Linked DNA regions of Homo sapiens: all the other regions are linked to region 4. Evidence: promoter capture Hi-C in 16 types of primary human blood cells and fetal thymus (Javierre and others, 2016). All regions are on one chromosome and are shown on one strand. Each heading gives the region's core, a stretch centred on a gene start or on the middle of the fragment in contact. The rest is flanking DNA. Distances are from core to core; before and after follow the strand shown. Region 1 overlaps GUCY2F (guanylate cyclase 2F, retinal). Region 2 has its middle 130 kb from the start of ACSL4. Region 3 holds the start of GUCY2F (guanylate cyclase 2F, retinal). Region 4 holds the start of KCNE5 (potassium voltage-gated channel subfamily E regulatory subunit 5). Region 5 has its middle 100 kb from the start of ACSL4.

Evidence for each region. The method cuts DNA at HindIII sites, captures the fragments that hold promoters and counts their contacts. A CHiCAGO score of 5 or more calls a contact.
Region 1: a contact is called between a fragment that was not itself captured here and the fragment with the promoter of KCNE5 in region 4, in 2 of 17 cell types (neutrophils and naive B cells). The highest score is 6.3, in neutrophils.
Region 2: a fragment that was not itself captured here is called in contact with the fragment with the promoter of KCNE5 in region 4 in 2 of 17 cell types (neutrophils and activated CD4 T cells); the score reaches 6.9 in neutrophils.
Region 3: a contact is called between the fragment with the promoter of GUCY2F here and the fragment with the promoter of KCNE5 in region 4, in 15 of 17 cell types (naive B cells, M2 macrophages, M1 macrophages and 12 more). The highest score is 15.7, in naive B cells.
Region 5: a contact is called between a fragment that was not itself captured here and the fragment with the promoter of KCNE5 in region 4, in 1 of 17 cell types (activated CD4 T cells). The highest score is 7.4, in activated CD4 T cells.

What each region holds. Positions count from the first base shown.
Region 1 is chrX:109,463,022-109,467,632 of GRCh38, forward strand. It overlaps GUCY2F (guanylate cyclase 2F, retinal), which reads right to left. Exons shown (of 20, transcript NM_001522.3): 3 at 2,121-2,422. Among named protein-coding and RNA genes, the nearest start is that of GUCY2F, 17 kb to the right of the region's middle. The HindIII fragment of the contact is 4,267 bases long and covers 852-4,611 here.
Region 2 is chrX:109,859,576-109,863,944 of GRCh38, forward strand. No RefSeq gene overlaps it. Among named protein-coding and RNA genes, the nearest start is that of ACSL4, 130 kb to the left of the region's middle. The HindIII fragment of the contact is 4,679 bases long and covers 1-4,172 here.
Region 3 is chrX:109,479,847-109,483,860 of GRCh38, forward strand. GUCY2F (guanylate cyclase 2F, retinal) reads right to left here and starts at 2,240. Exons shown (of 20, transcript NM_001522.3): 1 at 2,020-2,240. The HindIII fragment of the contact is 1,102 bases long and covers 1,798-2,899 here.
Region 4 is chrX:109,623,292-109,627,634 of GRCh38, forward strand. It overlaps KCNE5 (potassium voltage-gated channel subfamily E regulatory subunit 5), which reads right to left and starts at 1,881. Exons shown (of 1, transcript NM_012282.4): 1 at 409-1,881. The coding sequence starts at 1,729. The coding sequence ends at 1,301. The HindIII fragment of the contact is 6,764 bases long and covers 1-4,343 here.
Region 5 is chrX:109,835,326-109,839,354 of GRCh38, forward strand. No RefSeq gene overlaps it. Among named protein-coding and RNA genes, the nearest start is that of ACSL4, 100 kb to the left of the region's middle. The HindIII fragment of the contact is 3,036 bases long and covers 323-3,358 here.

The sequences.
Region 1 (4,611 bases), core at 1,735-4,234, 160 kb before region 4:
AATCCAGCATTGTTAATATCTCTGTTATTAATTTTTTTATTAGAACAAGAATCAGCAAAATATTTGATATAAATCCTCCGAGCAGAAAGAGATACATAAACCTAAATTTCATTTGAATCACTATTCAGACAGAGAAGCAGCCCACAGAATGATGAAATAAAGGACAGATAAAAAAGAATATGAATATCAGACACAATCAACTGCCTACCTAAGTCTTCTTTCTTGCTAACAGAATCTCAATTTTGTTCACATTTTTCCAGCAGCTATATATTTTGTTCACACTTTTCAATCACAGTTGTCACATTCCTCCTTCCAGATTATTGGTTTAGGCATGGGCATGGGACACAATCGTGACAAACAAGGTATGGGAAGAAGTCTACTTGGGGAGATTCTGGGAAAGATTTCCTCACTCTTTTTTTTTTTTTTTTTTTTTGGAGATGGAGTCTTGCTCTGTCGCCCAGGCTGGAGTGCAGTGGCGCCATCTCCGCTCACTGCAAGCTCTGCCTCCTGGGTTCACGCCATTCTCCTGCCTCAGCCTCCCGAGTAGCTGGGACTACAGGCGCCCGCCACCACGCCCGGCTAACTTTTTGTAGTTTTAGTAGAGATGGGGTTTCACCGTGTTAGCCAGGATGGTCTCGATCTCCTGACCTCGTGATCCACCCGCCTCAGCCTCCCAAAGTGCTGGGATTACAGGCGTGAGCCACCATGCCCGGCCGATTTCCTCACTCTTAAAAAGAGACACAAGGGAAAGACAGTCTCTACTTTCACCTCTGGACATTGCCACCCGTATGTGATGTCTGGAACTGTGGCAGCCACCTTGGGACCATAAGAGGAACCAGCTCATGAGGGCAAGCTTAGCATGCTATGGCTTGTAAAGTGGAAAGATGAACATGTTTCATTGATGACATCATTGACTGCTGAATTAACCAACCCTGAAGCCCTATCTTCAAATTTTGAAAAAGAATTATTACTTAAACCATTTTGTATTGAGCTATTTCTTACAGCTGGAAGCAATATGACTAATGCAGTATTCTAGCAAATGCCAGAGCTTTTAAACTTATGTGTATGTTGTTCTAAGTACTTTTGAAAATGTCTGCTTTCTACATCTGACCTCCAGTGTACAGAAACGTCCCTCTGTATTTTTTCCAATCTAAATGGCTTCTTTTGTCTCCCCATCTTCCTCTCATATTCCTCGTCTTCTTTGTATTCATCCTCTTTGTTTTTGTCTTTGCTCTCCATTGTTTTCTCTACTTTCTTCCCCTCCTCACTCCTTTTTCTTTCTCTAAGCCTTCAGTGGCTATGATTGGAATCTGAAATATGCCTATACATACATTTATCTACACACATATAAATACTATTTCTTGTATATCAGAAGGGAGGACTTCTTCCCCATTCCAAGTGGCCTGTCTTCACCCACTTACTCATTCCTCCCCACAAAGGAAAAATGAATTAATCTGACTGGTTAGTTTGGAAGGAGAAGTAAGTATGTGTAGCTCAGCCCCTCCTGTCTTCTTTCTCTTGGGAGCAGACTACCTAAAAGAAGCAAATGCTCTGCTGTTCCTCTCCAGACTACACATTTTAAAAAAGACCTGCCCTCATGGGGCAGGACTGCAGTGGTCCAGCAATGCCATTGGCCAGATGGAGAAGTTTGTTTAATCCTTGGGTTCAGTATTGGGAAGCTCAAATGCCTACAGGTAGAAGCCGCATCCTCCAATACCAGTGTTATCAAAAATAAAGGAAATAGTTTCTTATATACTAGCTCTTTTGCCTTATTGTTAAATTAATTCAGAACTTACACCACAAACAGGACTTATTTTTATTAGGCTCCCTTGAACAGCACCAGTATATATTAAAGTTTTGTTTATCTGTTCTTAAATACATTTATTCTTCCTGACTATATAATGTCATCGTGGGCTGCTTAAAGATAAAAGAACAAAATCTCAAATAATATGCCTTTGTTTCACAAATGTTTTCAGCAAACTAAAGATGTTTTTAATTTGTCTGTGGTTGCCTGCCATTGACTGGGCCTCCTATGGAATTGAGACTGTTGGTCTGAAAATAATTTACCATGCTGATGTTTTAGGTTCTCAGCTCATGACAACCTATGAATGTGTACTTACTTGATCGAACTCCAGCTTCTCAGGAATTTCACCTCTTGCTGCTGCCTCTGTGAAGGCTTGATAGAAGGTCTTTTCTTGGGACTCCACTGTAATGGTCAACACTGCATCATAGGCTTCCCGGAGCTTTGGGTTGTTCCTTAGGACCCGGTAGGGGGTGTGCTTATAAGGTAAACTGTAGAGCAGGGCATCATAAGGAACAAAGACGTAGGTTCCATCAGTCATTTTCAGATCATGAGCACATTCCAAGAGATGCATCTGAGTCTCTCCCCCAATCAAAGCTGAATGCATACACATGATGATTACTGAAACCAACAAAGCAAGGAGGTTATGGAAGCAAACTGTTAGTAAAGCACAGTACCAAAAACTACAGAGAGGAAAAATAAATGTGTTCTAACCAATTTGTAAGTGGTTTCTTATGCCTCCAAGATAAGCAAGATGTTGTCCTGAGCTGAGGCTGAGGTATGCTCATGGACTCTGGATTGGGGATAGTGACAAGAGAGAGATGCCTACAGGCTGCAGAGCCTAATACTCAGACAGGAACAAGAACTAGTATAATCAATGGGGAGTAGCATAACAAAAGAGGCTTTAGGGTTGGAAAAATCAGCTTTACATCGTAACACCACCAGTTTTAACTGTGTACCCTTTTTTAAATTACTTAACCGCTCTCTGTCTCGTCCATAAAATGGAGATAACAATATATACTTATGGGATGGTAGTGATGATTGAAGAAAGGAGACAAGTCATTTACTTAGTACATAGCACACAATAAATAGTAGCTACTATATACCTAAGAATTAGAAGAGAGAATAGTAAGAGAGGATGGGAGATGTTACCACAGCCACTATTGCTTTTTATTGTCCATCTCCTACAAACATGCACTCTAATACATTTTGACCAATTGTTCTCATCCTTACCAAGGTCATTATAGACAATGAAAAGCACTAACTCACTCACCTATAAATGTTACTACAGGTTGAGTACTCCTTATACAAACTATTGAAGACCAGAGGTGCTTCAGACTTCAGACTTTTTTTAGATTTGGGATATTAAGTATAATATTTGCATTATACTTACCTGTTGAGCATCCCTAATCCAAAAATCTGAAATCTGAAATACTTTAATGAGTATTTCCTTTGAGAGTCATGTTGGTGCTCAAAAGTTTTCAATTTTGGAGCATTTCGGATTTCAGATTCTCAGATTAAGGACGTACTCTGTGTAATATTATGGGTGAGATGTCCAACTTTTTAAAATCTAACTTCCCTGTAATTGAAATTACTATGGACTCAATTTAATTCTTCCTAGACTTATGAAACTATGTTGTTTGGCAAGGTTATGCTAGAATAGAGTGGATTCAAGGGGGCCACGGTTGAAAAATGGCAGCTAGATCATGAGACTGAAAGTCTTATATCCAATTTTACCCTTGGCATGCTAAATAAGTTTAGTTTAAGCCCACTTGTGCTTCAGTGCCCACATCTTTAAAATGTAGATTCCAATGCATTTTACAGGTACACTGAGTAGTTTAATTAGATAATGCCTGGCAAGCATTCTGAGCTCCTTGAAGAAAGGCAAAGACTCTATTGCTACTGGTAAATATTAATTATACATGTTTATATGGAACCTTTAATCTCAAGAACTAAGGGTGCTTAACTACATTCAATGACTTGTCTTTGGCATTTGCATATTGTTTCATCTATTTTCAAACACCTTTTTACACTTGCTAAGCACCCCTAGAAAGTTTCCCTTTGAGCTAGAGCTGGTACCTTTTAGTTTTTAAAGTGTAACTAATAAGTTATGAAGTTTATTTAAACATACCACACACATATGCACACACCACAACATGACATGAGTTTTCAAATGACCATTAACTCCTTCAAAATAATTACGCTAAGAGGTTCTACATGTATTCTGATGTTCAGACCTTCCTTAGAATTCTCGAAGGATATCTTTGGAGCTAGTTCATGAGCCCCACAAGGAATTCAGCCTCACTTGTTTATAATCACACATTGTATCATGGGAAAATGGAGTGCCAGAGATGTTTGACAATGCAAGAGTTGGATTTAGAAAAAGAAAGTAGAACTGAAGACCTCTCACTCTCTACATTTGGCTGAACCATTAAAAGTAAATTAGTTTGGTCAAATTAGTATAGTCATAGGTCCATTGAGGCGGGGAAAATGAGTTTAGTCAGAGGCTTCGGTTGGCCAGTTTGTCCAACAGTATCCTCAGCAAGTAGATCAGTATTAGCATCTTTCTTCTGCAAATCAGAGATTGAGTGATTTGTTCAAGGTTACTCAACAGTGATACAATTTGATTTAATTTACTTAAAGGAATATTAAAATGACTTTACTGCATGGAAAATGTTAAATAGAACTAGTGTTTGGTGCTGATTGCAATACAGCAAATACTTTAACATACATTACACGTAGTAGGTGCTATGGTGATGTGCCATCAAGATACACACTTCAGCACTGAAGCACTCATTCCACCAGCTGCT
Region 2 (4,369 bases), core at 583-3,082, 240 kb after region 4:
CACTTAGTTATTGCAGGCTAGCCTGGCGATTTGATAATCATACAGTTACGCATTTTTTAAATTTATAGTCATGTATTCTTTCATTTATGCCCACAGTGGATTGTTGGCTAAAGACAAGAAACACAGGACTGCTGTTGAAATGCAAGTGAATAAGGATGATAAGAATGATAGTGATTCTGAAAATTCGTTTTTGTATGAGCTGAATTGTGTTCCCTACCCCACAACAAATGCATATGTTGAAGTCCTAACTTCAAGTACTTCCGAATGTGTCTGTGTTTAGAGATAAGGTCTTTTAAGAGGTAATTAAGTTAAAATGAGGTCATTAGGGCAGGCCCTAATCCACTATGACTGCTGTCCTTATAAGAGGAGGAAATTTGAACACAGACACACACAGAGAGGAGACCATGAAGACACAGGGAGAAGACAACTATCTCCAAGCCAAGGAAAGAGGCCACAGAAGAAACCAATCCTGCCAACTCCTTGATCTTGGCACCTAGTCTCCAGAATTGTGAGAAAATAAATGTCTGTTGTTTAAGCCACTCAGTCTGTGGTACTTTGTTATGGAAGCCCTAGTAAACCAATATATTGTCTGAAACTGCTGTTTATCAGATTCCTAAGTGATAACAATCTGATTTTAAAAATTATATAGTACATTAAGCTATCTCTCACACTTTAAACATCAATGGCAAAACTAAAGGTATAGTAACAATTATATCTAATTTGGCTCTACATTTCTTGGGGAAAAAAGAATAAACACATTTGCTATGTTATTGGTGAAGAAAGTCTGGAGAAATAGTATTTTCTTCTAATGTCTTCATTTAGAAACAAAATACTAAAATTATGTAAATATGTGAACTTATCTTTACAATACAAAATGCAACAATTTCAAACAGCATGACATGAAAGCAGTTTTTGTCTAGTTTTGATGCCATAATACGTAACTGCTTTTGACATTTTAATATACATTCAGTCTCCAAATAAAACATACTGTAATATTATGTTTATAGTTGTCAAAAATTATGTTCATTTTGCATACTTTAAACAGTTTGCATCACTCAAATAAGATAAATCAATTTTTCCTATATTTTAAATAATATTAAAAATTGCATTAAAATGTATTTTTAAAATGTTAGCATTGTGGTAGGAAGCCTCTGAGATTGCCCCAGTGATTCCCACCTCCTGGTATTTAGGCCCTTGTGTAATCCCAACCCCATGCATGTGGGCTGAATCTAGTTACTTGCTCCTAAGAGAATATGGCAAAAGTAATGGGACTACACTTTTGAGACTAAGTTATGATTTCTCCCTTGCTTTCTTTTTCTCTCTCCTTTGCTCATTCTGAAGGAAGTCAACTGCCATTTTATGAGCTGTGAGCTGCCCTATGGAGAGGTCCACATGGTAAGGAACTGATGTCTCTGGCCAACAGCCAGAGAGGACTGAATCCTTCTAGCTACCACAGAAGTGAGTTTGGAAGCAGATCCTTCCCCAAGCTGAGCCTTCAGATGAGACCACAGACCATGCACTGCACCTTGATTGCAGCCTTCTGAGAGACCCTAAGCCAGAGACATCCAACTACACCATGCTCAAGTTGCTGACCCACAGATACCATGAGATAATAAATGTTGTCTTAAGCTACTGATTTTGGGGTAATTTGCTTTGAAGTAATAGATAGCTAATGCAATCTTCAATAATATAATGATCTAAAATAAAATACTTTTGTTTACCATTTATTTTTTATTATGGCAAGAATGAGAAAATCTCTGGAAAATCTTTGGGTTGTACTAGCCAGGAATGATCACAAAGGAAGCAATTATTTCCCCTAGACCTGAGTTACCTGAAGGCACTGGTTAAAAATTCAGATGTCTGAAGCCTACCCTGGAACTACAAGATCAGAAGATCTAGTGGATGAGTCCAGAAATCTGTATCTTAACAAATCCCACCCCACCAAGCAAATCCAATGCTCATTGAAGTGTGAGACTTATTTTTTTTCAGAGAGGCATTTATACAATTTAACTGTTCTCAAGCATGGCTGTGCATCAGATTCCTCTTGGGAGTTTATTCAATCCTGAATTCTACTCCAGACTTGTTGCAGCAGAATCTTTGAGGATAAGCCAAGGAATCTGTATTTTTAAGGCTGCCTAGTTACTTCTGAAGAAATTCCTTAATGACAAGCCAGGCCTGGTCAGGAAATGTCACTGAATCATTCTTGGCTTGTGCCACCCACCTATTCTGTCCTTAAACTTGGAAAATAATGCTTATACTATCTTATATCTTATCAGTCCTAGAGGCAGCCACCCACACCTCAGGTCACATGGGCTAAGAGAGAAAACAGGAGCCTGGGTTTGGGGGAAAGGCCCTTGGACTACAAGTGACAACATTCAGTGATATCAGGGTAGGAATAAAGCACATAAATGAGTATTCTACATATTCTACACTTCTGGAGGCACCTGCAACTCAGGTCACATGGACTATAAGAGAAAACAAGGACTCCATCACTAACAGTATCTGGAAATCTCCACGGTGGCACGATGAGGCATGACTGTCAAGCAGTTTGACCTGTTTAGTAGTTGGCCCCCGACCTTTTCTTTTTCCACTATATCCCAGTGAGCAGGCTAACGAGATTCGTGATAACAACACTATGCCTTATTTCAGGAGTCTTGTTACAGTCAAGTTCTGTGTTAAAGGCTTAGCATGCAAGGACTCATTTAATACATTAACCTTGTGAAGGAAGTACATCAGTAGTCTCCATTTTATTCATGAAGAAACTAAGGCTCAGAGAGGTTGTGTGGCTTGCCATGAGTTACAAAGCTAGAAAGTGGCAGAGCTTGAACTCAAACCCAAGTCTATTTGACTCCAGAGGCTGGGACCATAAGCATAAATTCTTTTATTTGTAAGATGATACCACTTGTTTCCTTTGGCTAGTTTGTTCACCACTTAGCCTAACAATGGCCACAACTGGAACTGTTTCTTTTATTTTAGCTTCAGGGCTTCCCAGGTTGGGTGTCGAGTTGATCTCAGCTGGCTGCCAGCCCTGGCTGTAAGCTCTGAAGATCCTCCAGATAAGAACTGTTCTTATAAATTCTGGCTCCTGGACTAGTTATGGGGACAGGATGAAAGGCTCCAGAGTAATCCTTTAAGCTCTCCTAGGCAGTTGCAAGGGTATCCATCACCAGACCTGTTGCCTGAGACACTGGCATTCCTGAGACCCCAGGCCATACAGATAGAGTGGCCGCTGGCTCTAGTATAATCAGAAACTAACTGTCTTGTTAACTCTTTGTTCTGGTGTCAAACTGACACTCATAATTAGCTTTGAAAGCAACATAGGGGCTATGGCTGGCCATTGCATAGGAGACATAAAGGGCAAGGAGGAGAAATGTACTCAACAGTGTCAGTGGGCAAGTAACTTCTCTCTCTCAGGGACAGACCCTGACTCTGGTGTCCCTCTCCTGAGTTTCCTTATGTATAGCTGGAGTAGGAATCACTCCACTGGGCTTGGGGATCCTACCTTGGCTCTGACCTGGCCCAAGGGCCTTCTCTGCTGGTGAGAGCCCCAAAGCTGGTGCTGTGCTCCCTAGCTGAGAGAACCCTCCCCTTCTGAGCCAGCACTCAAGGGCCTCTTGGAAAAGCTGCTTCTGTGAACCAGAGGAAACAACAGCCCATAAGAGAAGATTCTAGGAGTTCTCGGGTCCCAGTAATTGTGGAGCAAGAGTGTCCACAATAACTCATTTCCTAGCCTCTGGCAACTAGGGGGCATTGAAGATCATTTTAGCAGGGACTGGAAGAGAGGCTTCTCAGACTTATGTGATCCAATGGGTCAGATTTGCCCGGCCTGGGGATTAGCTGAGACTGCACCTACTCATAACCACTCACTTGGTGGATTCAGAAGAGAAAACAGAAATAAATCCTATGGGTCAGGGAGACTGGCTGACTATATCATAAAAGCCCATGCAAGGCAAGAGGTTCTTGAAACTTGGAGTTAACTGGGATCTGTCCTACTTCCCTGAAGAAGTTCTAAGCAATTGGCTTTGGAACTCCAAGGACTTAACAAATAAATCACTGGGAGACCAAAGCCATCTTGGTTAGTGTTCTGAAAACAAAGTTAGGTCAAGGTTCACACGTCAGTGTTAAACATCAAGGGCTAAGGCTAAGCTAGAGTTTCCTGGAGGTTCCTTGCAAGCTTTTGGGAACCTCAGAGAAGATACAGCTCACTTTCTGATGATTACCTTAAGCAGCAAGAAAGGCCAACTTTTAACACTCTTGGGCCTGAGAGCAAAATTTTAGTAGCTGCTCCTGAGTTTCCTCCCATTCCTCACACTTGATGCCTAGTTATTCATGGCCTAAAGTAAGACAGAAATGCCTCAGGGGCAGCATT
Region 3 (4,014 bases), core at 990-3,489, 140 kb before region 4:
ACGTTGAGAAGTTGGTCTGTGCTAAGACTAACTACAAAAAAAAAATGGGAGAGTATAAGGGCCTGGCCAAGAAATCTAAACAAGAAAAGCAAGCATGTACCTCAGGAGGGAGAAAACCAAGTTAGTAAGTTCCCTGCTTGCTTTTGCTTAACATTAAATCTCCAGTGCCCTTCGCAGTGCCTGACACATAGTAGGTGCGCAAAAAATATATGTTGAATTAATACTGAAGAGGAGATATGGAGCACAAATAAAATGTTTTGTATTACCATGTTATTTAAAATGCTCTATTTTAGGCCTTAATCAAGACCCACCTTTGGCAAAATTATCAAGGGGTAAAGTTTGTCTTCAGACTTCTAGCACAGCTCTCTCTGCCCTCTCGTTAATGGAGAGAAAACAACTCTAAAGAAAGAAACTCTTTAAATGATTTGCACTAATATGTAAATGAATGATAATATTTGACACTTTCCTGTATTCCTCCCCAACCAGTGGTGTTTGTTCTCTCTTAAGGGCTGGGGAGAAGTTTATGCCAAAATAATTAATCTCTAATAATATAATGTCTATTTCAAGCATCAGTTGCAGGTAGGCAAAGGAGGATGGACTACTTTTTGAGCAAAAAAATGAAGAAACTTTTGGTGCCCCTCAGATCAAAGTGATTAACTGTCCATTCTAGGTGTAAGGCTGGCATTTTTGTGTTATAATCCAGGTAACTCCTAAGCACAATGCCCACCCCAAATTCTAAAAAGTTAGATTTTTTATACCATTTCTAAAATTCATACAACACGGGTCCCTCCTCAGGCCACATGCCACAAAGTGTCCCTTGGCATTCACTCTCAGTTTTTGTTGCTCTTTTCCCTTTGTTAACTGCAAGATAAACATTTCCCAAGCTGAAGGTCTGCCCTTACATTTTTTCTGGTACCGATGTGATGCATTTGGTGATATTTCTAACTCTGTTAGGACTCCCTGGACAACCAGAAAGTTTTATGTTGCTGTAGGATTTAGTCTTGATCCCCCAACTCAAGATTTTACAGAAGGAAACTTATTCTTTAAAAAAGAAAAAAGAAAAAAAGAAGGGAAGGAAGGAAGGAAGGGAGGAAGAGAGAAGGAAGGAAAAGAGGAAGGGGGAGGAAGGGAGAGGGAAGGAGGGAAGAAGAGAAAGAAGGAAGGAAAGAAGGGGAGGGAGGAATGAAGGGAGAGAAGAAGGAAGGAAGGAAGGAAGGAAGGAAGGAAGGAAGGAAGGAAGGAAGGAAGGAAGGAAGGAAGGGAGGGAGGGAGGGAAAGAAAGGGGCAAGATAGGGGGAGGATGCCCTAAACCTCCACCTGCTGATTTTGGTTTAAGGAAAAAAATTAGCTCACTAAAGTCTTTCCTGGGGTTAATGGGAAATGTGGATATAACTAAAACAAAGTTTGAAGGTATGAAATTTTGGAAATAGAATACTACTGGCCCACAGTTGTTCTGGGGCCATTGCCTAGGTTACTCAGGTGTGAACACCTGCATGGGATCAGACTTCCATGGAAAGCGGCTAGAGCATAGGGATGCATAATTTCATTTCAGGTAGTTTTTACAATCTGATGGGAAGCCTGGCTTCACACAGAAAACCACCGTTCGTTAAACATGTACAAAGAAAGACTATGACAAATAGCTCTGAGGGAAATGGCTCCTCATACCAGCTTGTCAAGCCGAGGACTTCTATGAAAGATTGATTTGTCTTTCTAATTACAGCCTGAATCAAGTTAACAGCTTGTATAAGACAACATCAGGAAGCAATAAAAAAAGAATCATGAGAGAAACTAAACGAAAGCTTGGATGAGAGCCTTTGAGCTCAAATCTTGACTTAAAGTATCTCGAAGGCTCTCTTTAACCCTTCTTTCCTTCTTTCCTTCATTCTTTAAATTTTTTTTTTTACTACATATTGCAGTAAAACTAATGTATCTCAATCAGCGTCTCAGCTCCCAGGTGGGCTGTGTCTTTTTTCCCCCCATTACAATCTTTCTTATAAACAAGAGCTGTCAACTACTCACCAAGTAATTCACCGCTCAAATGTCTTCAGTTTACTGCCTGCGCATGCAGACCACTGGCATAGCTACCTCAGTGTGTCCATTTCTTTGCATCCTCTATGCATTCACAATCCTGTCAAGGACTCCAGTCTGTTGACAAATTCCATTAATGGGGTAAATAATTGAAAGCGTTAGTAAATGTTTTGAAAATCACTCTTCAGCATCCGCAGACCAAGACTTGGATTAGGATTTAGAGTGACACTTCTAATCCTTTAAATTGATCCCACCTGTAGCAGAGTTAGTGCTGACCTAAATGCAATGACCCAGAGATTAACAAACAAATAGAGTCCTCTGGATAAATACGTCCTCCACAGACTACTGCCTTCTTTTACCTTTCAAAGTCAGACACAAACTCTCAGATTTTGCCTCTGTGTTCTTCCTTGTTCCATTCTGTCTAATAACCACCAATCGCCCTTTCTCCAGGACAGTTCTAAATGCCAAAACATTCATCAGCTGTGATTCCAGCCCAGAATATAAAAGGTGATCCAGGCTGGCTCCCTGCAAAATTCAAAGCAGGTGAATTTTGTCTCCTTCTCCTATTCCCCTTAAGTGCCTTCACTGCCTTTCCTCCCAAGAGAGACTCCCTACTTCCCTCTACACCTTTGTACAGAGACATTGTTTCCCCATACTTTAGATGTATTCCTTTTCCTTAAGAAGTCCCTCTCTGTCCTGGGCATCATTCACTCAGGGCCCTGTTCTGGATTCCCAACGTGAGAACTGAGGTGTTAAGGGCTAAAAATGACTTATATTAAATGAGAAATGTTTTTTAATAATAGTTTTATTGAGATATAATTTATCTACCACAAAAGTATATAATTTAGGGTTTTTTTAAAGTATATTCACAAGCTTGTGCAACATTTTCATTATTCCCACAAAGAAATTCCATTCTTGTTTAAAAGTCACTCCCCATTTCTCTCCTCCTCCTAGCCCCAGGCCACCACTAATTTACTTTCTCTATGGATTTTCCTATTCTGAACATTTCATATAAATGGAATCATACAACATGTGATCTTTTGCGAGTGGCTTCTTTGTTTGAATGAAAGAAGGACATGGATGAAATTGGAAATCATCATTCTCAGTAAACTATCGCAAGAACAAAAAACCAAACACACTTTGTTTGAAAAACAAACCGTTTTCAAGGTTCATGCACGTTCTAGCCTGTACCAGTACTTCATTTCTTTTGTGGCCAAATAATATTCCACTTTTTTGGGTATACCACATGATCAGTTGATGGAAATTTAGGTTGTTTCCACCTTGGGCTATTATGAATACTGCTTTTATTACTTTTGTGTAAAAGTTTTTATATGGACATATTGTTTTTATTTCTCTTTGGCATATACCCAGGGAATTGCTGGGTCATATAATAACTCTATGTTTAACATTTTTTGAATTGGCAAACTGTTTTCCAAAGTATATGCACCATTTGGCATTCCCACCAGCAACATATGAGGGTTCTTTTTTGCCTACATTCTTACCAACACTTGTTACTATCTATCAGTTTTTTATTTAAGTATGACAGGCATTTTATATGTACATTATACTTATATGTACATCTTTATGTTCACAACAACCATGAAGGTGGATATTACCCATTCTTTCCATTTTGTAAATGAGGATGCCAAGACTGAGATAAATTAGGCAATAATCATACTTACTGAGTGCCAATGATGTGACAGGCATTTTTGGAAGCCCTGTCTCCTTAGATCTTCACAGTGACCCCACGAGATAGATACTATTTGAATTCCCAGACATCCAGAGAGGTTACAGTAACTTACCAAAAATCACACAGCCACTGGTCAGTAGAGACAGAATTTGAACTCAGACACTCTAATTCTAGTAAGTAATAGAGCCAGAAAATTTAAACGCAAGACTATTTGGCTCCAAGAAAGCTCACGTTTATCCTTGATATATTCCACTAATGCACCCTTGTGCTATCCCTCCAAAGACTGCTTGCACTCT
Region 4 (4,343 bases), core at 631-3,130:
TGAGACTCTGTCTCAAAAAAAGTAAAATAAAAACAATTATTAAGGTGGCTTCTAAAAATTAGGTTTGATAATAGCTAAAAGGGATGGGCCTTAAAGGTTTTTTAAAGTGCATCCTGAAAGACTGCATTGTGATCTTTGAAAGTGCTTCAGAAATAAGAAAAAAGGAGGGATAAGTAATAAAGTAGGTATAACTTTTGAAACACTTGAAAAAACAACCCATTTAGCCATATAAACATTTTCTTCACCCATAATCACACATATCAAATTGGAACTGGTTACATAGATATAAATATCACAACCACCCAACCCCCAAATCCAAACATCATTTCCAAAAGCAAAAGAAAAAGGATTCCTTCTCCATATGGTACTGGGTCTTAAGGCTGGAATCTCTGAGAGAAGAGTCTTGCGTTATTGTTTAAACAACCTTTATTACCTGCCTCTGACATTCCCCAGGGTTACAGAGCAGGGGGCATCTGAGCCTCAAGTTCCACGGATGAAGCAGACACTGCAATAACAACTGAATCAATAGAGGAGAGGCATTTGGAAGTACTGGGGTGATACACCCAGTAATGGTAATCCTCAGCAGAAGATGGCATAGCTACCAAAAATCAGGCGTTACCACTGGGATGAAAACTGGGGAGGCAAGAAAATCATACGGTTGGAGTCATAGATCATTTCCCTCCCCGTTGAGCACTCCTCCCCCTTCCGTCCCCCATTAAGTTCATTCTATCCCACAGACTGGTCCTAGTGTCCTGCTAGCTCCCTGCTGAAAGAGAGAGGGAGGGAAAAGATGTCTGAGGTCTCTTCATTTCCTTTGTCTCTGTCCCTAAGGCAACTGGAAGCTGGAGCTGCTGCAGTCGGCCTGGCAAGCCCGTTGGCTCTGCAGAGTGAGCAGTCCCTGGCAGCCCCTGGAGCAGCTGCCAGTTAGACGGCCCAGAGTTCTGATAGAATGCATTGCTTCAGTTCAGTGCCAAGTGTTGGACGTGTTGGATTCAGTTCCCAGAGGGCTGGAGCGTGCTGTCAGGGCTGTCTGAAGACAAGAGAGCAGAGGCAGTTTAGTGCAGTTGGATGTGCGGGGTAGGGGTGGAGGCGCAGGGGTGAAGAGGGAGAAACTGGCCCGAATGGGTAAGGTGGTGCTTCTCCTTCCAGGGCCTTCCAGACAAGGTCTCCTGGCCTCTCACCATTATCTGGGCCTCAGATGAGGCGAACCCTGGAAGGGAGTTGGGGGTGGAAGGTGGGAGGCGCGCCCAGGGATGAGCGAGATGAGGAGGGCGCGAACCAGCAATCTGGGGCTGTGGTTTTAGACCCGCTCAGCGCCCTGGGCGAGGGCAGGCAGCCCCTCGGAGGCAAGCTGGCGGCGGCCCTCGGCCTGGGAGCCCGCGGCAGCCTCGGCGTCGGCGGTCAGGGCGCCTCCCGGGGCCCATTCGTGCTCGGCGCAAGCCTGGGACGGCTCGTCCTTGGCCTCGACGAGCTTACGGGAGCGGGTGTAGGCCAGGATGAGGCCTCCGGCCAAGCAGGCGTAGAAGATCATGATGAGCAGGATGTAGAGATAGGCGTCGTCGCCCTTGGCGCTGGTCACCTCGCGGCCCACGAAAGGGTCAGGCACGACCCCCATGCCCATGCTGGGACGAGGGCCAGCGCCCAAGCCGCTGGCATTACCCCGGTGGTGCAGCTCGAGCAACAGGCGGCTCAGAAGGGTTCGCAGCCGCTGGCTCTCGCTGCAGTTCATGGCTTTCGGGGAGTGACACGGCGGCTCCAGGACGCTGCTGACCTTTCCCCCTGGGCGAGGGGAAGCGAGCTAGCGAGCGGGCCGGCCGGCGGGCAGGGCTCAGCAGCGGAAACAGCGGTAGCACCCAGCTCTCCGGCGAGCGCGCAGTGGCTGGGGGCGCCGACGGCGGGGCCTCCTTATTCCCTCACTCCCGCCCCTCCTCCCCTTCCCCACCACGCCCCCTCCGGCCCGCGGCCGCCTCTTCCCAGGCTCTGGCTGTCTCGCTGCTCCAGGGAAAGGGGACAGCTGGTGGGGGGAGGAGAAGGGGACAAGAGTGGGGGCGAGGCTGGGAGACGGGCGGAGGGGGCGGGGGCTCGGAATGCGCGAGGCCCCAGGCAGCAGACGCTGGCAGGGCAGCTTGCTGGGGCCAAGCCTGGACCCTGGGCTGCGGAAGAGAATTCCTTCCAAGTTCTGGCCACCTGCCCTGCAGGCCAGGCTTTGGCCCAGATACAGCATTTGGCCCCCTAAGGCAGCTCTGCCTTGGGGCGCTCAAGGGAGAGGGCAGACGCCTTTCCGCAGCAGAGACCCCTTGTCCACATTTTATGGAAGTTACTCCCATATACAGGGACCCAGGCCTATCTTTCTAGTCCTCATTCCTTTCCTTTTCCCCCCGCCCCCCTTTTCACCCCCCTCCCACCTTGTCGGAGGAGAGCATCTTATTCAGAAGATGCTCAGGCTGAATTTGGTGACTGAGTGCTCAGGCACCTGCTAGAAGGCCAAGGCAGAGTAGAACTCCCTGGTTATCCAAAATGGTTTCTGGTGATATAAGTGATATTACACCTTCTTGGAAGCACCCCTGCTCTGATGTCCTATGACACTTTTTGAAAAGTCAACACATCTTAGCACATGAATGTACTATTCATAATGGGAGCCTGTTTCCCATGGGTAAGTAAGCCATCTTCCCAGAAGTGAAACCAAGTTCTTCCAATAAGAGTAGCATGCACATTTTAAAAGGCCCTTTGACTACACTCTGTGGATATCTCGGGATCTGAAAAGTGCCAGTTCTAGAGAATATGCTCACCCTACTCCCAGTTAGGCCAGCAAACAGCTGTGTGCCTCTCTAGACTTGGTAACAGGTCTAGGCCCTAATGGCTTTTAGGGCAGCCATTTTTTTCTCAAAGGCTGTCTTTTTTTAGGGGAAAACAAGGCACCAAGACAAAGATCAGGCCAGATATGTTAAATTGGAAACAGACTGAGCTTCACAAAGGAAAAGGGTTGGTTTGTAGATGGTGGGGTAGAAAAAATGAGGTAGTGCTGGCTAGGTCTGGTTGTCCATAGTTGCCAAATGAGAGCAGAAAGCAAGAAAAGTGTATGACCTTAGGCACACCTTGAAAATAATGCTGCCTGTTCAAGACCGTTCAGTCCAGGGACCATTCAATCTATAGGTGCCATGGGTTAAAAAAGGAAGGTTTTCCGATGCCTCTTCCCCAACCGTTCTTCAGCCCACCATCCACCCAGGGGCTGTAGCCTTCTGTGTGTTCAGGTGAGGTTGGCACCAAACTGTATCCAGGGTCTCAAACAGAGCCTTGCTTCACAGCCTCTAAACAGGCCTCAGAGACATTCCACATGACCCTGACACTGGCTCCCTTCTAATCACCTTGCCTCAATATTCTCACCTCAGAGGGCCTCAGGAAAGAATTGTTAAAGCAACTTGGCAGGATGAATGCCAGAGGACACAGCCAGAGAATTTTCAAAGCACTGCTAACCTAGTGATATGACTGTTGAGCTAAAAAGACTTCTCTTATCTGTTAAAACAGGAGTCCCCAACCTCCCAGGCTGCTGGACCTTGGCCTGTTAGGAACCAGCCGCACAGAAAGAGGTGAGCAGAGGGCAAGTGAGCATTATCGCCTGAGCTACACCTCCTGTCAGATCAGCAGTGGCATTAGAGTCTCAGAAGAGCTCAAACCGTATTGTGAACTGCGCATGCCATGGATCTACAATTGCATGCTCTTTATGAGAATCTAATGCCTGATGATCTGAAGTGAAACAGTTTCATCCTGAAACTATCCACCCCTCCCCAGTGTCCATGAAAAAAATTGTCTTCCACAAAACCAGTCTCTGGTGCCAAAAAGGTTGAGGACTGCTGTGTTAACATATACCTAGAAATAGCTAGGGTTTTTTTTTTTTTTTTTGAGAGGAAAGGAGGAAGAAACCCCTTTACTGTAACATACAAATAATCATTTAAACTTGTTTTCTAATTTCAACAGCCTTATGAGCTAATAGGATTCTCATTTTCCAAAGAGGAAACTGAGGTTCAGACTGGTTAAGTAGCAGGACTGGAATTATAAAGTTTGACCTTCTTCTTCTCAGTCCTCACACATTACTTGTGTCAAATGGGTGGTATTCATGAGCTACCTCCATTTTCCCACCTCTCCCTCCTCTTGAACCTTCTAGAGTCCAGTGCTTTCTGCCAAAACTACTTTCTATAAGTCAGTTCACCAGTGACCTCCGGGTCAAATTCAGGGGTCTCTGCTCCCTTTGCATCTTTGACCTCGAGGATGAATTTGAAACCATCAACCACCCACTCCTTCCTGTAACTGTCCTACCCTTGGCTCTTGTGGCATTGCATTCTCAA
Region 5 (4,029 bases), core at 591-3,090, 210 kb after region 4:
CAGACTTTAGCAAGAGCATGGACTCTAGAAGCAGTTTGCTTTTGGTTCAAATCTCTACTTTGTCACTTTCTAACTGTGTGAGCTTAGGCAAGTTGCTGTGAGGTTACTCTTTCAACTTTCTCATCTAAAAATGGATATAATCATTGTTAACTACCACATGGGTTGTTTTGAGGACTTAGTGGGTTAATAAAGCCCTTAAAGAAGTGCCTGGCCTTTTAGTTGTTGTTATTATTATTGGAATGAAATAATACAATCCCATTACTGTCCAAAAATGTGCAATCTTACCAGCCAGTTAACTGAAAATAGCAGGAAGAAATATGAAAGCTTTTGCAAATCAGCACATTGACAACTATAGACTTGTTCCTGACATGTCTGGTGTATCCCCATCTCCTATTTTTGACCTGAACTCCTTGGTGACTATAAAGACTCTCTTGAAACCTTCTACCAGGCCCCACAAACTTAAGACCAGGAACGGTATCCATAGCAGATGCAGTTTGTTCTGTGCAGTGGATTTTTGGTTGGTTTTTGTTTTTGAATTTAATATATTTAGGCATGGAATACACACTCCACCTACTGTAGGCACCATTGCTCTCTTCTGTTTTCAGTGCTCAGCTTTTCCGCTTAGCCCCTGAAGGCCTTTATGTTTGAGACCTCTGCCCTAGTACCTCTACCCAGAGCCTTCATCAGGGACCAGCTACCCTGTAGGATCGCTTGACTCTTCTATTTGAAATCATCACTCCAAAGGCCTGCACTCACCTTTGCATTGACCCTTCCTTTTCATTCTCATCTCTTGCCATTTCTGAGCTCATGCTGTATGCTTTGGCCTTGCCAGACTTCATTCAGTCCTTCAAATAAACCATGTTCTCTCTTACCTTCTGTCATTAGCACCTGCTGTTCCCTCGGGTTGAAATATTCTTAACCTCACTTCACTAGGCTAATTCTTCATCATCTTTCAGGTGACTTAGATGTCACTTCATCTAGGAACCTTTTCCTGATACTTTAAATAAATATTAAAAGCTCTACTGGCCGGGTGCAGTGGCTCACCCCTCTAATCTCAGCACTTTGGGAGGCTGAGATGGGCGGATCACGAAGTCAAGAGATCAAGACCATCCTGACCAACATAGTGAAACCCCGTCTCTACTAAAAATACAAAAATTAGCTGGGTGTGGTGGCGCACCCCTGTAGTCCCAGCTACTTGGGAGGCTGAGGAAGGAGAATCGCTTGAACCCGGGAGTAGGAGGTTGCAGTGAGCCAAGATCACACCACTGCACTCCAGCCTGGTGACAGAGCAAGATTCCGTTAAAAAAAAAAAAAGGAAAAGAAAAAGAAAAAGAAAAAGAAAGATGGAAAGAAGGAAAGAAAGAAAAGAAAAAAGCTCTTCTTCTGACCTACACTTCACTTGTGGAGACTAGTTTCTCACCGATCCCATTTCTTTCCTGGACAAAGAGGAAGATTATATTTCCCAGCATCCCTTGCCATTAGATTGGCTTCTGGTCACTTTCAATTTCAAGTCTGGCCATAAATCATGCTGCATGATACTCTGTGAGCTATCTTTCCTTGTTGACCTACAGAATACAGAGGCTCCATTTGAGGACTCTGAGGAGGTCTATGATGGTGGAGCCATGAGACAAAAATGGCCTTGTTCCTGAGTCACTGCTTGGAAGAGAGCATCCCAGGAGAGCTGCTTGACCTGCATTGGCATGTGACATGAATGATAAACTTCTATTGTGTTGAACTAGTGAGATGTGAGGGTTGTTTGTTACAGAAGTCAGAATGAACTACCTTGACTAATGTATCTTCCTATGTCATAGTACTTAATGAGATTGACTATATTTGCCTGTTTATTTGGCTTTACTAGTCAGTTGAATATAGGCTCCACCAGGGCAGGAAGTTTTAGGGGTTTGTTCCCTACTTCACCTCCAGCATCTAGAGTACCTGGCACTTATTAATGGCTCAATTAATATTTACTGAACAAATAAATGCATGAGCATTTATTTCCTTTTAAAACCCACCATGAGTCCAGGCGTGGTGGCTCACGCCTGTAATCCCAGCACTTTGGGAGGCCAAGGTGGGCAGATCATTTGAGGTTGGGAGTTCGAGACCAACCTGGCCAATGTGAAACCCAGTCTCTACTAAAAATACAAAAATTAGCCGGGCATAGTGGCTCACGCCTGTAATACCCGCCACTCGGGAGGCTGAGGCACAAGAATCGCTTGAACCTGGGAGGCGGAGGTTGCAGTGAGCCAAGATCGTTCCACTACACTCCAGCCTCGGTGACAGAGCGAGACTCTGTCTCAAAAAAAAAAAAAAAAAAAAAACACCGTGAAAGAATAGAAAGCCATGCTACGCCATCAGGGCCATACCACTTAATGCTGCCCGAGGGAGTAGCTGCCTTGGAAACTGCCAAACCACCAAGTATGCATTCTGGATCACAGCTCTGGAACTGACCTTACAAGGCTAATCCTATCAGGTCTTACATCTCTGTTCACCTCAGCCATTGCTACCACCCCACCCAAACTTCTTGCCAAGGTCACTTAAGACCTCCATGTTACCAAAACCAATAGTGTTCCTTTTGTCCTCATCTAAATTGATATTCCACCAGTATTCAACACAGTTGACTACTCTCTCCTCCAACAGTCTCTTCTCTCAGCTTCTGTGACAATACATATTTTTCTTAATTCTCCAGTATCTTTGACTACTCCTCTTCAGTCCATTTTGAAGATGCTTCTCTATCCAATGGACTCCTCCTGTATCCAATATCTAAATTTTTGAGTGGCCCAGCACTAGTTTCTAGGGCTTCCTCTCTTCCCTATCTGCACTCTCACTGAGTGATCTCCTCTACTCCCATGGGATTAAATATCATCTATATGTTGACTTCATCCATATTTATATCCCCAACTCCAAACTCTCCTTTATATGGTAGGCTCACATAACCAACTAGCTAGACATCTACTTGGATATCTCAAAGGCATCTTAGACTTAACCTGCCCCAAAATAGAACTCTTTATTCGTACCATCTTCCCTACCTCCCATTCCCCAAATATAATTTCCTTTCCCAGTCTTTCCTATCTCATCAAAAGGAACAACCATCTACCAGGCTATTGAAGCCAGAAACAGCAAATTGTTTTGGATTCTGCTATCTCTCTCATCTCCAACATCTAATCAGCAAGTTCCATAGTTTCTAGCTCCTCTGCCAAAAATCTCATACATGTCCACTCTTTTTAAATTTTCATTGCCAATACCCTACTGTAAGCCACCATCACTTCTTGCCTATACTACTGTAATGAATGCTTAACTGATTACCCAGTTTATGCTCTCCCCTTCCCTGCAGTCTATTCTGCACACATTAGCCAGATTAAGCTTTTAAAAGAGTTTCCCTTGCATTTTAAATGAAGCCCATGCTCCTTTCTATGGACTACAAAGCTGTAAATAACCTGGACTTTGTCTACTTCTTCCATCTCCTCTGTAGCCACTTTCCTCCAATACTACTAGTTATATGTCTACTTTCAGGTCTGTGAGCAAGGTAAGCTCTTTCCTGTCTCAGGCTCCTTACACATGCTGATTTTTCTGCATGCTGCCTGGAATTTACTTTATTTCCCCTACTCCTTGCTTCTCTTCACCAGACTAATTTTTTAGCAAAAACCTCTCCATATGCAAAACTTCCTTCCCTGACTGCAATTTTTAAGTATGCTCCCCTGTCATCCTATGCAACTTCTCTCCTGTGTTTTCTTCATACATCTATCATAACTTGAAAAGATATGTTTATTGGCTATTTTCTTGTTGATTATCTGTCTCCCCCATTGTACTTTAAACTCTATAGGGGCATAGACAACATCTATTTTATTCTATTAATGATAATTGCATTACATAGTACCTAGCACAGTGCTTGGCATATATAGTTCCTTAGAAATATGTATTGAATGAAATAGCAAGCATGCAACAGTGTACCTAGTTGGTGTGATTTGAAGAGGATGGCGAGGTTGTCCCTAATCCCATTCTAAAAAGCTCTCTCTCCACATCCCATTCAAC